Regions from separate parts of the Homo sapiens genome. Here region 2 is linked to region 1. Evidence: promoter capture Hi-C in human tissues and cell types (Jung and others, 2019). All regions are on one chromosome and are shown on one strand. Each heading gives the region's core, a stretch centred on a gene start or on the middle of the fragment in contact. The rest is flanking DNA. Distances are from core to core; before and after follow the strand shown. Region 1 holds the start of EBF4 (EBF family member 4). Region 2 overlaps PTPRA (protein tyrosine phosphatase receptor type A).

Region 1 (3,103 bases), core at 466-2,965:
TTCAAATCCTGGAGTCAACCCCCTACTGAGACTCCCAGACCCCTGCAAAGGAGTCAGAGGAGACCGGCGCGGGTGCTGGGTTCCCAGGGACTCTCTGCCTTCCAAAGGACCTACCAGAAAAACACCCGAGGGAAAGGCAGGGGCCCTGCCCAGTTCCCAGGCCAATCAGTCCAGCCAGGCCGACTGCCCACCTCATCTCTTCGCCACCGTCCAGCCCCCAGCCGCTTCTCTGGCTCTGCACACCCCCATCCGCCAACTCTGAGGGGCGTGGGAAAGGAAAAAGGGGGCTGGGTTTCGTGCCTTTCCTGACAGAGAGCTGCGGAATTGGACAAGGAGAGTCACTGGGACTGCCCAGGAAGGAGGGGCTGGACGTTCCTAGACGGCCGGTGGCTGTGGGTCATGGCTGGGAGCTCTGCCTCTTCTCTCAGAGCCATAGACAGCCCGGCTGGGGTGGCGTTCACCGCCGCACCCGCGAGCGGCCGTCAGAAATCTACCGGGGCAGCCCGGAGTGGAGGCAGAAGCCCCGCCCCAGCCCGCCCCACAGCCTCAGGAGGCAGCACAGGCACTCCGGACGGGGTGGGCCGGGGAGCTCGCCGGGACCGTCCAGAGTTAGGGCTCCTTCCGCCCCTGGCTCCAGCAGCTCCAGCAAGCTGAGCTGAGGCGGCGCGCAGCCGTCCAACCCGAGCGCACCGGGTCCGGTCCGAGCGCTTACCTCTGCGCCGCGGTGCTGGCGTCCAGGATGCCCGCGCCCTGCATCCAGGAGCGCACTGAGCCCAGGCCGGCGGGCAGCAGCGGCTCCTCCTTCAGGTTCAGCCCGCTGCGGGGCAGAGCGTCCTGCGCAGGGAACATGAGGGCGCGCGGTGAGTGAGCGCCCCCGCCGCCCCGGATCCGGTCCCGCTGAGGCTGCGGGCGTCTAGCTCAGCCCGACCCGACGGCACCAGGCGCCTCCAGCAGCGCAGCGCCGAGTCCGGGTGGCTCAGTGCGCGCTCGCCTCTTGGGCGCTCCCTCGGAGAAAGCGGGTCCGCGGGCGCCGGCGCTGTCCCCTCCCCTCCTGGGGCGCTGGGCGGGGAGATGGAGGGATTCCCCCGCGGCCTGAGCGCTGGCGGGCGGACTGCGAGCGGGGCGGGGAGGGCGGGGAGCGGAGCCCGCACCCGGTCCGCGCGGAGGCGCCCCAGAGGCGCGCTCTGGCGGCTGCCCGGGGCCGCGGTCGTCGGAGGGGGGGCCCGAGCGCCCCGGGAGCTGCCTCGGGCAAGGCGGGGGCGCGGGGCCGCCCGCCCTTTCCCCCTCGCCGCCCCCACCTCCCGCCCGCCCGCCCGCCCGCGGCGCCAGCGCGGGGCGCTGATTACCATCCGGGAGGCGGAGGCTGCGGGCGCGGAGCTCGGCGGCGGCGGCGACAGTGGCGGCAGCGGCGGCAGGAGCAGCAGCAGCCGCGCGTCCCGGGGAAAGGCTGGGGCCGCGCCGGGCCAGCAGACGCCGCCGCCGCCAGCGCCAGCGCCCCGCGTGCCCCGGCGTCCCGGCCCTGCCGTAGCCCCGGGCGGCAGCACCTGGAGCAGCAGCAGCAGCAGCCCGGCCGACTCCCCCCGGGGCCCGGTTCCCGCGCCGCCCCGCCGCGGCCGCCGCCGCCCGCCGCTCCCCGGGGCCTGGCCTCGGGCCCGGGCCATCCCGCCGCCGCCGCCGCCGCCGCCGCCGCTCCCGGGGGAGCGGTAGCCGAAGGGAGGGAGCGCAGGCGGGAGGAGGGATGTCGGGAGCGGGCGGGCCCAGGGGACGGGGGCCCGGGGGAGGCGGGGGCGGGGCGGCGCGGCCGGCCGAGGGGCGGCCGGGGACGTGACATCATCGGGGGAGGAGCGGCCGGGCCCGGGCCGCGGCGGCGGGGCGGACCCTGGCGAGTCGGTCGCCTGGGCTGGGGGCTGCGGCCTGGTCGAGGCCGCGGGAGGGAACGGAAGAGCCCGGCGGGGGCCACGGAAACCCGCGCAGGGAGGATCCGGGGCCGCGCGGCGAGGGAGCCCGGCCCGAGCGGGAGGTGCGCGCCCCGCTGCGCTCGGGAACCTCCGCGGCCTCCCCGTCGCCGCCGGACGAAGCCCCGGCGTCTTCGCGGCCTCATCTCCCTCCCCCGGCACCCGCCGTACTCTCCGCGCCCGACGCCTTGTGCCTGGACTTGCTGCTCATTTTGACGCCTCCGAGCTTTCGCTCTTGACGTCTTTCTCCCGCGTGACTGTACTCCCGCATTTCCCCGGCGACCCTGACCTCACTTTCACCCCAGCTAAGGACTGAAACGTCCCTGCCGTAGGCTGCGGCCCCAGACAAGCTGGGCGAGGTCCCTGCATCCAACCATCCCGATTCCTGATGCTGGGTTACCTAAGCCTAAAGCATTTTCAGTTTCCATCTGTGCCTTTCAGGAACCTCCTGATTTCTGATTGCGAGTTGGACAGGTAGGCTCAGAGCCCAGCTCACCTCCTGTTTCTCCCCAGCCGCGTCCCGTCTCAGATCCCATTCCTTTTTTTTTATTAGTTCCTGGCACAGAAGTCGTCTGGCCCTTGACCGTGGGGCAGAGACATTTCTGCCCCTCTCCCCACGTTGTCCTGGCCAGGCTTCGAGCAAGCCCAGACTGAGTCCAGCACTTTCCTGCAGAACAGCATGGGGGCCACCTGCCCTGCCTGCCATGTTCACGCTCAGACACCCCTGCAATAACACCTTCCTGCTCCAACTCACTCCCATCCTCTTCTGGGGGGCCTCCAAGTGTGAGTTAGCGTTCTGTCACACATTGGCCCAGATGAGGCGTCCTGGGGGCACTGCTGGTTCTCCTGCCATCACAGAGGCCCTCTCACCTCCTTTCCTGGTCTCTTTACCACCCCTTCTCTCTATGCCTCTCCCCATCACCCACAGGGGGCTGCCATTCCCACCAGGACTCCTTCAGGTCTCAGCTTTTACCCTAGGTGGGATTATCAAACATGGGTTTCTCCTTAAGACAATTCTTAAGCCAGTCTCTTTCTCCATCTCCTGATCTGCCTCTCTAAATCTTGCTTCTCACAGTGTGGTCCCCGGACCAGCAGCATTGACATCACCTGGGAGCTGGTGAGGAATCCAGACTCTTAGGCCCTGCCGG
Region 2 (3,477 bases), core at 216-2,715, 260 kb before region 1:
GCGCGTGCCACCATGCCTGGCTAATTTTTGTATTTCTTTTTTTTTTTTTTTTTTTTTTTTTTTAGTAGAGATGGGGTTTCACCATGTTGGCCAGGCTGGTCTTGAACTCCTGACCTCAAGTGATCCACCCGCCTTGGCCTCCCAAAATGCTAGGATTATAGGTGTGAGCCACTGTACCCGGCTTAACAGTCCCTGTTCTTGAAAGCTTTTTGCCCTGTGCTTTCCTATCACTGAAGACACTGTAAGTGGCTCAGTTTCCTTCCTGTCCCCCAGGCCTGCTATTCTCCTGGATGACTTCAATATCCTCATGGATGACAACCAAAATCCCCATCTAGGCCAGCCTCTCAGTTCCTTGACTTCCTTCACTCCAACAACGCTTTATCTCTGCTACACTTGGGCCACTCACGACAATGGCTGTACTCCAGATGCTGTCATCACCCAGAAAAGCCCCCATACTGAATAAATCTTGCCTTCCCACTCTCCAACCACACTTTCTATCCTTGTAGTTCTCTCTGTTATGTCTACCACACCTGCTCTCTGACCTCACCCAGGCCTTCAGTCTCTTGAACCCCTCTCTAATTCTTTTCAATATCTCTGCTCTATCTTTATTTCCTTTTCTACCAAATCAAGAAAACTTGGTGTCAGTTCAATCATTCTTTTGTCCTAACTTCCTTCACTACACTGTTCTTCTTTTACACCAACATGGAAAGAAAAATCCCAAACTGTCAGCCCTATACTTGGACTGCCAGATGCTGCTTAAAAAAAAAAAAAAATCAAATAACTCATAAGGGTTGTATCACTACAAATCACTATTTCCGCTTCAGTGGAACCCTAAGCACTTTCTGCAGTCTTTCTGTCTTTCCTTAGCTCTCTCCAATTCTCCATAGCGGTGCCTTCAAACCTCCTCTCCCCTCTAACCATCTCCTCCCACACATGTGGCTGTTGGCCTTGCCTACCCTTCCAAGAAAATAAAAGCCATTGGACTAGACACCCTTAACTCCCCAGTCACTATATCCAGAAATTTTCCCCTTCCCTGAAATTCCATCCAGGAATCTCAGTCCTTTAGGAACCCTGCATTTTTTTCTACCACCATCTCTAGCTTTAACCCCTCCCTTTCATACCAGTTTTTAACACAATTAAGTTTTCAAAGAAGATGAAAAATTTCTTTGCATCTACATCAATCCTTCAGCTATCATTGTCTCTACTCTGCTTCATAGCCAAATCTCTAGAAAGAGTTGTCTCTCCATGGCAATCTGGCTTCTTGTTCCACCATTCCACTAAAACAGCTGCTTCCAGCCTAAAAGTAAAATGGGTAAACGATATGAAACATAACTCACAAAAAACCATACAGTTCTCTTAAATCTATGAAAAGATGCTCAACCTCACTGATGATCAAAGAAATCAATGCTGAGATACCATCTTTTTTTTTTATTATTTGAGACGGAGTCTCGCTCTGTCGCCCAGGCTCGAATGTTGTGGCGCGATCTCGGCTCAGTGCAAGCTCCGCCTCCCAGGTTCATGCCATTCTCCTGCCTCAGCCTTCCGAGTAGCTGGGACTACAGGTGCCCGCCACCACGCCTGGATAATTTTTTGTATTTTTAGTAGAGACAGGGTTTCACTGTGTTGGCCAGGATGGTCTCGATCTCCTGACCCCGTGATCTGCCCGCCTCAGCCTCCCAAAGTGCTGGGATTACAGGCGTGAGCCACTGCGCCTGGCTGAGATACCATTTTTTAATCTATCACACTGGCGAACATAAAAAACTTTGATAATGCTGCATTGGCAAGAGTTTGAGTAAACAGGTACTCTCATATAATCTATAAATATTCATCAGAATTACAAATGCACAACCCCTCTGACACAATTCCACTTCTGGAAACTTATTCCACGGATACATATCCATACTTTCAAAGTGACCCATGTACAAGGTTATTCAATGTAGCATTGTTTTCAAGAGAAGAATACTGGAAATACCCTTAACGTCTATCAATGGGGGAGAGAGACATGATTAAATAAATTATGGCTGATTTATTTATTTATTTATTTATTTATTTATTTATTTTTATTTACTGAGACAGGGTCTTGCTCTCTCACTCTGGTTGGAGTGCAGTGGGACAATCATTGAACTTGGAAGGATAAAGAGTAATTGGCCAAGACAAGGGTCAGACATAGTCTTTCAAACTGAGATGACTTGGAAGCTTGAAAAAGCCTGTCTGGTCCTGGCAACAAGAAAGACCTAGGTAAGGACATCACAGGGGGCTTCAATAAATATCTGCTAAATGAATGTAAAAATGGCAGACATGAAAGACTAGGGTGGGTGAGGAAAGGGTGGGGCGGGGAAATGCACACAATGAGGCTCGAGGAGGCAGCGATCATATCATGAAGGGGCCTGTACATTACAGTGAAAGTTTTAACTTACCACTGAACACACTGAAGAACTACCAAAGGTTTTATCACAGCAAGGTTAAATGGAACAATTTAGATTTTAGAAGCAATGACTGATGGCAGAGTGAAGGATCAACTGGTGGGGTTTGAAGTAAGGAGGGTCACTGACTGAAGCTTTCTGAAGTAATCTAGCCAATAAACCAGATGGATCTCACAGCAGGGCAGGAATATCTAAAGGAGACTGAGAAGAGGATTTATAGGGGTAGAATCGAAGGCTAATGAGATGTTGGAGGTAAGCAAGGCCCAGATGTCTAACTTCAGTGAACTGCAATGCTATAAGCTGGAGGATGACCAGTTTTGGGGAATGTGGTGGGGAAAGTGATGAGGTTAGTTTGAACATGGAGAATGTGTGGTATTAGAGTAGATGTTGTATCTGTGGGGGGTAGGGGGAAAAAAGACAGAATGGCAGACAGGCAATGACAGAGCAGCTGCCCTGGAAGTCAGGCAGAAAGCCAAAAAAAGGGAAGAAGACAGCTCTATGAGTGACAAAAGCAGCAATGAGCTAGCCAGGCAGCAGACATCTGAGAAACACAGTAGGCAGGAGTAGGTGGGTGCTGATGAGTAGAAAACTGATACATACCACCAGGGGAGGGTGGAGTAGGAACAGCACTCTGAAGAGTTGCCAGTGAGAGAAATCAGCTTGAAAAACTGGCAAGCTTCTGAAGAAGTCCTAGAACACCAGATATCAACTTTCATTATATGTCTTCTCTTGAGAAAGGCAATGTGATAGAGAAGTCCAAAACAAGAGAAGAGACCTTCCCCAACATTAGTGAAACTAAGGCACTGGAGAGCAGCTCACTTGCATAGACAACATTATATAGAGAATGAAACTAGACTACTAAGGCTGTGAAATAGATTCTTAACTTCTACTGCTTCTAAGTTCCACCTAAAACAAGATTCAGTTGGGGACCTTGAAAGAGATGAGTCTGGAGGCAAAAGAGTCAGTCAGATTACTACAATAAACAAATACACAAAATAGAATTTGGTATAGGTTTATATTGCAGATTAACACAAAGAACAATATGAAAATTTAT

What was found. Contacts are between HindIII fragments. The study calls those that stand out against the background at their distance.
Region 2: a fragment that was not itself captured here is called in contact with the fragment with the promoter of EBF4 in region 1 in 3 of the 25 tissues and cell types used here (H1 embryonic stem cells, dorsolateral prefrontal cortex and spleen).

Annotation. Positions count from the first base shown.
Region 1 is chr20:2,691,392-2,694,494 of GRCh38, reverse strand. EBF4 (EBF family member 4) reads right to left here and starts at 1,715. Exons shown (of 17, transcript NM_001395167.1): 1 at 713-1,715. The coding sequence starts at 849. It overlaps LOC105372507 (a long non-coding RNA gene), which reads left to right and starts at 1,875. Exons shown (of 3, transcript XR_937210.3): 1 at 1,875-2,429; 2 at 3,031-3,103. RefSeq lists an enhancer at 1-544. The HindIII fragment of the contact is 20,356 bases long and covers 1-3,103 here.
Region 2 is chr20:2,955,245-2,958,721 of GRCh38, reverse strand. The region is part of intron 3 of PTPRA (protein tyrosine phosphatase receptor type A); the gene reads right to left. Among named protein-coding and RNA genes, the nearest start is that of PTPRA, 84 kb to the right of the region's middle. RefSeq lists an enhancer at 3,237-3,296. The HindIII fragment of the contact is 4,102 bases long and covers 1-3,477 here.